Regions from separate parts of the Homo sapiens genome. Here region 2 is linked to region 1. The links are contacts of gene promoters, found by promoter capture Hi-C in human tissues and cell types (Jung and others, 2019). All regions are on one chromosome and are shown on one strand. Each heading gives the region's core, a stretch centred on a gene start or on the middle of the fragment in contact. The rest is flanking DNA. Distances are from core to core; before and after follow the strand shown.

The links. The method cuts DNA at HindIII sites, captures the fragments that hold promoters and counts their contacts. A contact is called where the count stands out against the background at its distance.
Region 2: a fragment that was not itself captured here is called in contact with the fragment with the promoter of RHEBL1 in region 1 in 2 of the 25 tissues and cell types used here (bladder and dorsolateral prefrontal cortex).

What each region holds. Positions count from the first base shown.
Region 1 is chr12:49,067,874-49,072,330 of GRCh38, forward strand. It overlaps RHEBL1 (RHEB like 1), which reads right to left and starts at 2,106. Exons shown (of 8, transcript NM_144593.3): 1 at 1,861-2,106; 2 at 1,162-1,233. The coding sequence starts at 1,912. RefSeq lists enhancers at 1,820-2,129, 2,500-2,549 and a silencer at 2,150-2,269. The HindIII fragment of the contact is 9,146 bases long and covers 1-4,457 here.
Region 2 is chr12:49,514,773-49,519,229 of GRCh38, forward strand. It overlaps SPATS2 (spermatogenesis associated serine rich 2), which reads left to right. Exons shown (of 14, transcript NM_023071.4): 11 at 4,301-4,410. Among named protein-coding and RNA genes, the nearest start is that of KCNH3, 22 kb to the right of the region's middle. The HindIII fragment of the contact is 7,896 bases long and covers 1-4,457 here.

The DNA of each region.
Region 1 (4,457 bases), core at 856-3,355:
ATAATTTGTAAAGATCAAATAAGTGTATCTGGAATATTCATCACCTTAAATATTTGGCTTTTCTTTATGCTAGAACCATTTGAATTCTTCTCTTCTAGCTATTTTGAAATGTAAAATAGCTTATTGTAAGCTATAGTCACCCTACTGATCTACTAAGTCTTATTTCTTCTATCAAACTATATATTTGTACCCATTGATCAATTTATCTTCATCCCTCCCACTCCCTTCCCCCTTACATTCTTTTTATTCTTTTTTTTTTTTCTTTTTTTTCTTGAGACATTGCTTCACTCTTGTTGCCCAGGCTAGAGCGCAGTGGCACGATCTCGGCTCACTGCAACCTCCGCCTCCCAGGTTCAAGCAATTCTCCTGCCTCAGCCTCCCGAGTAGATGGGATTACAGATGTCCATCACCATGTCCGGCTAATTTTTTGTATTTTTAGTAGAGACGGGGTTTCACCATGTTGGCCAGGCTGGTCTCGAACTCTTGACCTCAGGTGATCCACCTGCCTTGGCCTCCCAAAGAACTGGGATTACAGGCATAAGCCACGGTGCCCAGCTTTTTTTTTTTTTTTTTTTTTTTTTTGAGACAGTCTCACCCTGACACCCAGGCTGGTGTGCAGTGGCACGACCTTGGCTCACTGCCACTTTTGCCTCCTGGGTTCAAGCGATTCTCCTACCTCAGTCTCCTTTGTAGCTGGGATTACAGGCGTGCGCCACCATGCCCAGCTAATTTTGGTATTTTTAGTAGAGATGAGGTTTCACCATGTTGGCCAGGTTGGTCTCGAAATCCAGACCTCAATCCATCCGCCCGCCTCAGCTTCCCAAAGTGCTGGGATTACAGGCATGAGCCACTGCGCCCAGCCTCCCCTTACATTCTTAACCTTGGGGGTGACACAGATAGATCAGCTCCAGGGAGTTATCCAGGTAACTGGAAAGACACGCTAAGGTTCTTAATGTCTACATCTAAACTATCCCAGACTCAATATCTTGCAAAATCCATACTCTAGCCATCCATCGAACAGGATTGCTAAAGAAGAAATCAGATGTAATGTCTAAATAAATCAGCCCCTTGGCACCAGAGAAATAAATTATGGAGTTGGGTGGGGTATCCAAGCCCTCCGGGTCGCATACCACCAGCACACTAGGGGAGAAGTCTACTCACTATTCTCCACTGTAGGATCGTAGCCTTCCGAGAACTCGCCTTCCACAAATTGATGTGCCAAAGATGTCTTCCCTGTGGGGAGCAGTGTGACAGTTGTATCCAAATCATCCATCCACATTCACATCCTCTGTCCTTTCGGACTGTGGCCCAGGACCAAAGGAGACCCCAAATTAACACCACAGTCTGTGAGTGCCTCAAGCAATGCTATCCTTTGTGTCTACCCTCACCCTCTTTTCACCCAGGGTCTCCGCACTTTGGCTACCGGATGCATTCAGAAGCGCAGCAGGAAGCCTTTCCCGCCGCCTTCCCCACCCCATCCCACTCGTAGGAAGATCCAAGATTCCCTAGGATCAAGTCCGCCCCGCCCCAGGACACCTGCGACTATCTGTCCCCACGGAGACCGCGTCCCGGTTTTCAAATTGTGACCCCACCCCTATCCCCAAAGTAACGCTGGGACCACTCTGAGATTCCCGCAGCCAGGTCCGCATTAACCCTTAAGTGCTCCCGCTTCCTGCAGCCTCCACACACCACCAACTCTTCCAATCCTCCACTCTTCCATTCCTCCACTCTTCCAATCCTCGCTCTACAACCCCATCCTTACGATGTCATCATTCCTCCCTGGGTCGCGTTCCCACGGCAGCGCGCCTCTTCTGGCTACAAAGCTGCTGCGCGTCCGAGCTCTGCAGGGCGGAGACTCACCTACACAGCGGTATCCGAGGATGACCACCTTCCTGTAGCGGACTAGCGGCATGGCAGGAGCCCGCCCCAGGGGCTTGCGGAACTGCGGGCTCAGAGAGCCCGAAAACGAGGTCAGGGTGTGAGCAGGCGCGGCAGCTGGTGCAGGAAAGTCGCTCACCCCGAAGCTGCCGTGGGCAAGTTAGAAGGAAACCAAAACAAGCGCCGCGCCCGGAGCTGCCCACGTGATCACAACACAGCACGTCTAACGCCAGGGAGCCGGGCGCCCGGGGAACTACTGAGCCGCGCCGCGCCGGGCTCCGCCCCCCAGGCCGCTCGCCATTGGTCCATTAGAATGGGTAAGGGCGGTGCCGCCAGCAGGAGGGAAGGGTGGGCCTCACGTGGAGCGGGAGAACTGGGAGCTGCGCGTGCGCAGACTGGAGCCGGTTCATTCATAAAGAAACAGAAAGGAACCCGGGGTCCTAAAGGCGTTTGCGCATTTACAGCCTAGCTGAAGTGGCTTCGAAGAATTATGGATGGAAAATACCCGTTTTGTGGTTTCCGGTCATAAGATTCTAGCCCTCCCTTTTGCATGGTCTCTGGGGTCCTTAGATAGGGAGAAAACCGCCAAAGTTCTAGTATATTCCTTCTGCTTCCCCCAGCCTTCAGCCCCAGACCTATCAAGGTTTCCAGTCTTCCAGCATCTAATTTCAAACTGCAATTCTTATTCTTGCAGAAATTGCTAGAATTTATGATCAAGTAGTCTGAGGTTTCTTCTTCATCATCATGATCCTCAAATATTCATTTTTCAACAAATACTGAGTATATACTACATGTTTCAGGCATTGCTCCAGCTTTGGGGTCAGAACATGGACATCACAGACAATGTGTCTGCTCTTATGAAGGGAGAAACAAACATACAACAAGGAAATATCAGAGAGTGTTAAGTGCTGTAGAAGATGGTGTGATGAAAGATGACCACTTTATTTTTTTTATTTTTTTATTTTTATTTTTATTTTTTTTGAGACGGAATCTCGCTCTTTCTACCAGGCCGGAGGGCAGTGGCTCTATCTCGGCTCACTGCAAGCTCCGCCTCCCGGGTTCACGCCATTTTCCTGCCTCAGCCTCCAGAGTAGCTGGGACTACAGGCGCCCGCCACCGCGCCCGGCTAATTTTTTGTATTTTTAGTAGAGACGGGGTTTCACCGTGTTAGCCAGCATGGCCTCCATCTCCTGACCTCGTGATCCGCCCGCCTCGGCCTCCCAAAGTGATGGGATTACAGGCGTGAGCCACCGCGCCCGGCCGACCACTTTATTTTTTAAAGACAATACAGCATTTTTAATTTTTTTTCTTTATTTATTTTGAGACAGGGTTATGAGACTGGCTAATTTTTGTATTTTGGGGAGAGATGGGGTTTTGCTATGTTGCCCAGGCTGGTCTCGAACGCCTAGCCTCAAGTGATCCACCTGACCCGGCCTCCCAAAGTGCTGGGATTACAGACGTGAGCCACCGAGCCTGGCTGAGATGACCACTTTAGTGATACTTTCTCTCATAGGAAACCCCATTTAAACTAAGATCTGAAGGAACCAACTAGGAGATTTCACAAGAAGAATCCACCAATGCTAAGGCGTTAAGATGGAAATAAATTGGGTAAATTCCAGGAAGAGGGGAAGAAAAAAAGAAAGCCAGTTAGCCTAAAGCAGATGAAGTCTAAGAGAATGGCAGAGGCCAGGCCACATAAAGGAGTCTGGGCTAATTCTAAGTACTTGAAGGTATTTAAGCTGGGGCATGACATGATCTAAATTGTCTTTCTAAAAAATCTCCCTGGCTGTAGTGAATAGATTGGGGTTTGAGGGTAACAGGAGCAAAAGGAAGCAGGGAGATTGGCGAGGAAACTGTTACCTGTAGTCCAGGTGAGAGATGAGAGCGCTTGACTAGAGTGATCATGTTGAATGAAGTTGAGAATTCAGGATATTCTGAAGCTAAGGTTAAAATGACTTGTGGAAGGATTGGTAGAGGAGGGAAGAAAGGAAGGAAATCACCTAGATTTATAGAGAGTTCGACTATACTATGTGCCAGGTGCATTTTATTGTTATCTCATTTAATATTCACAAAAGCCCTAGGCCGGGCATGGTGGCTCATGCCTGTAATCCCAGCACTTTGGGAGGCTGAGGTGGACGGATCGCTTGAGGTCGGGAGTTCGAGACCAGCCTGTCCAACATAGTGAAACCCCGTCTCTACTAAAAATACAAAAATTAGCCGTGCGTGATGGTGCATGCCTGTAATTCCAGCTACTCAGGAGGCTGAGGCAGGAGAATCGTTTGAACACGGGAGGCAGAGGTTGCAGTGAGCCGGGATTGCACCATTGTACTCTGCACTCCAGCCTGGGAGACAGAGTGAGACTCCATCTTAAAAAAATATATATATATATATATATATATATTCATCTTCTACTTTGTGCCAGGCACTCTTACTATGTGTTGCACACTAGGATACAGAAATAAATAACAGATGCCTTTTATACTGCTTGTCCCGTCCATATGAACTCTCCATTCTTTTCCACCCAGATTTATGTCCAGGAGGCAGACCTTGTCTCCTGGCTTTCAGTGAAGCTCAGCCAA
Region 2 (4,457 bases), core at 1,047-3,546, 450 kb after region 1:
AGGTGAAATAACTTTAAAGAGCCTGTTTTAAAAATATTTCCAAATCTTAATATTTTGAATGCAGAGTTCAGTGTATAAGAGACTGCATCACGGTATCTGCCACCAGGTTTTTATTTTATTTTGTTTCTTCCTCTAGTGTTTAAGCAATTCCACTGGGATTTTTTCTACTTGGAAAAAAACCTTTAGCATAATCAGAGAAGACTTCATTAGGTTGCCTACGATTGTATGTGTATACTCCTATCATTACCTATCTCAGAACTTTCTTTGTTTTCTCAGTTTATAGAACAGTCTTCACTCAGTGTCTGTTATCAATGGGTAGGGGAAAAGTTAGAGAATTGAGGGTTCAAGATACCAGGTTTCTTGAAAGCTTACTAAAATAGATTCTGGAGGAATGAAGTCTAACTTTGGTGATTTGTGGGGTTTTGTACAGAAAAAACAGATACCTATTTTTTGATCATTTCTGTTAAGTGTTAGGTTAAACATACACAGCTACACGAAGACAAGGGAATACCAACTGCAACTTGTACAATGGCATTGATTTGAGGCATTTCGGTGGCAGGTTTTATCTTCCTGCATTGAACGCCAGATTAATTATTAGGAAAGTTGTTTATTTTAACCCACCCCCAAACTGGTAAGAATAGAAATGCTGGGCTAGGTCGAGATCATGACTCACAGTTAAATCACTTGTGTGTGTGGTCACGGGCCAGAGGATGCAGCTTTGAAGCACTGAAATGACTTCAGCTTTGGTCCATTTTAACTTGAAAATTTGAGAATGTAGCAGAGATGCCTTCCACTGTTTTTCAGAGGTGAGATTTCATTACATTGAGCAATATATTTTGAGTTTCTAAATTTGACATTTCAGTCCATTATTTTATCTGTATATTCTCTTTTTGAAAATGGAAATGCAGATAAACTAAAACCACTAAGAAGACATATTTCTTAGTTTTGAGAAGAAGGTCCTTTTAGGCCAGGCGTGGTGGCTCACGCATATAATCCCAGCACTTTGGGCGGATCACCTGAGCCCAGGAGTTTGAGACCAGCCTAGGCAACATAGTGAAACCTCGTCTCTACAAAAAATAAGAAATAAGGCTGGGCGCAGTGGCTCATGCCTGTAATTCCAGCACTTTGGGAGGCTGAGGCGGGCAGATCACGAGGTCAGGAGATCGAGGCCATCCTGGCCAACATGATAAAACCCCGTCTCTACTAAAAATACAAAAATTAGCTGGGCATGGTGGCACACGCCTGTAGTCCCAGCTACTCGGGAGGCTGAGGCAGGAGAATCACTTGAACCCAGGGGGCAGAGGTTGCAGTGAGCCGAGATTGCGCCACTGCACTCCAGCCTGGCAACAGAGCAAGACTCCATCTCAAAAAAAAAAAAAAAAAAAAAAAAAAAAATATATATATATATATATATATATATATATATATATATATATAAATCAGGCATGGGGTCATGTGCTACATGTAGTCCTAGTTAGTTGAGAGGCTGAGGTGGAAGGATCACTTGAGCCCAGGAGGTCGAGGCTGCAGTGAGCTGTGATTGCACCACTGTACTCCAGCCTGGGCGATAGAGCAAGACCCTGTCTTGAAATTAAAAAAAAAGAAGGTGCTTTTAAGAATATTAATACATCTTTTATATTAATAGAAAATTTTGGCCGGGTGCAGTGGGTCACGCCTGTAATCCCAGCACTCTGGGAGGCCGAGGCGGGCTGATCACGAGGTCAAGAGATCAAGACCATCCTGGCCAACATGGTGAAACCCTGTCTCTACTAAAAATACAAAAATTAGCTGGGCATGGTGGCATGCGCCTGTAGTCCCAGCTACTCGGGAGGCTGAGGCAGGAGAATCACTTGAACCCAGGGGGCAGAGGTTGCAGTGAGCCGAGATTGCGCCACTGCACTCCAGCCTAGCGACAGAGCAAGACTCCATCTCAAAACTAAAAAAAAAAAAAGAAAAGAAAAGAAAATTTCAGATAGCGAGGCTAATGTAACAAATTCCCATCACTCAGCTTCAACCAATTATCAATTTGTGGCCAATCTTATTTTATCAAATTCAGAGCTCAAAGTTTTACTTAACTTCATCAGTTTTATATCTTTAGCTCTTTTCTCCCTGAAAATCCTGGTTCTCAATGATATTACTCATTTACCAATGCTATCAAGAGTAATTACTCATTTACCAGTGCTATCAAGAGTTGCTTTTTGTTTTTTACATATTATAATTTTATTAAGTAACTGATAGGTTTGTAGTATTTCAATCTTTTCCAGTGTTGTATAATTAGGTCCTATGAGTTATCTGTTACGTGTAGAAAGCTTTTTATTCACCTCATTTTTGCCATTTTGAGAGCTATAATTTTGTCATAGAATCACTGAATGCTAGAGCTGAGAGAAACTGAAGTTGATACAAATGGCAAATAGGTTTTATCTTGGGACCTAAACCAATAGATCATTTGTAACTGTTGGGCTTTGGCGTTAAGAAACTTTTGTAGGCATGCTCCTGACTCCTGAGAAAGTGGGCCCTGATTGATTAGTGTGACTTGGGTCTAGGCAGCCCATGTGTGCATCTCTGTGGCAGTTGGGCTGAGTAAACTTGCTAAATACATCCAGCTCTCTGTAATACCTGGTGTAACTCTTTAAAACTTCTGTTTTTTTCTGACGTGAATTTGGCTAATTCCTCAGTGTGTTACAGGATTCTATGTATATCAGTTAGGGATTGAGTTTGACTACATGGAACAGAGTGGCCTAAATAAATGTGAGTGTCCTTTTTTCTCAGAAAATGAAAAGTACAGAGGTAAGCAACCCAGGGCTGGCAGGACATTTCCCAGATGACATTAGGGACCCAGGATCTTCTGTTCTTCTGCCCAGCCATTCTGAGAGTATGCTTATGGTCAAAAGACAACTCCCTAGGCTCCAGTCGAGAAGGAGTAAAACGTTACATGCTAAGACTCCCTTAAAACGCTTTCCTGTAAAGCCTGCCCTTTGAGTTCTGCTTATATCTCAATGGGGAAACTATATCACATGGCCGTTTCATCTGTAGCAAAGCCAGAAAATATAGATTTTTTTTTTACCCAATTATGTTGGTACCCAACAACATTGGATTTCTGATAGCCCTGAATGTTCCTGAATGTAGTTGGAAAGACTGTGTTCCATCAGCTAATGGTCTTTGCTACAGTCCTCCACTACCCAGTATCCCTCTTTTTTCCAAAATGAGAATATGTTCACCACCTCCTCAATAGCAATACCTCCAAAGTCTCATCTAGTTAGTTAATATTCAGCTGAAAGGCCAGGTCTTCAGAGTGATTTCAGATCTTCCAAGGATGGGGTCTCATAAATTAAAAGAAAGGCTAAATGCCCCCTTCTCCCATATTACATAGTTGGAGAAAGAAAAGGATAATTATAGTAAAAATTCCCACTTGGAAAAGCAATGATCAAATCTTGCTGGATGGGAAGGAATAGCAGAGTCCCTTCCCTGGTAGTAGAGAACATTCGTTGGGTGGTTTATCTGCTTCCTGGGAGGATTTCTTTGGTTTTGTTTCCACTGTAGCCCCTGTCTCTCTGGGAGATTTTTATTGTATGTTCTCTGCCATGACCATATCCAAGTTATATATCAGAAAGCATGCCAGAGAAGGTGGTTCTTAAAAGGGTGTAACAATCTAAATACCCATCACTAGGGAACTCGGTAAATAATTGTGGTATATCCACATACTGGGTGGCTGTTAAACAGAATGAAGGTGATCCAGATGTATTAATAGGGAATAAATTTAAAGATATATTAAGTAAAAATAGCTAAGGTAAAAGAAAGACCATGTGTATGATATACTTCCATTTGTGAGAAGGGAAAAAAGAGAGCTACATATGTATGCATGTTGTATGTACATACACAATATTTGGATGTGTACGTAAGAAATGGTGAACAGTCGTTTCCCCTGGAGAGGAGACCACAAAATCAGAAATAAGAGAGATGCTCTTTTCATTTTATACCCAACTTACTCTAGATGAATATTTTTTATTATGTGTACATATTTCCTTTTTAATTTATATGCATCTTGATAAAATTTTTTTGACTGGAAGGAGAAATAACAATGATTTATGAGTGTTTGTGATTTATAAAAAATATTTACCACTTAACTGCCTTCAGAGACCCAATGGAAGGTAGAGACCAGACTTTTGATATTTTCATTTTCTGGGTGGATAGGCAGCTAAGCCTTTGGCTGACCAAATACCTACTGCAAGGCTTATATTTCTAGTTCTTCTTTATCCTATTTAGCAGCAACATAAGGTTCACACTCACTTTTCCTCTACAGTGGAAATTTTGCTCAGCCGACAAAAGAAGGCTGAACTTCTAAAGAAGATGACTCATGTGGCTGTTCAAATGTCAGAGCAGCAATTGGTTGAGCTCAGAGCTGATATCAAGGTAAAACTTCTTTCTGCTTTCTGCCTTTCTTCTTATCCTCAGGGGCT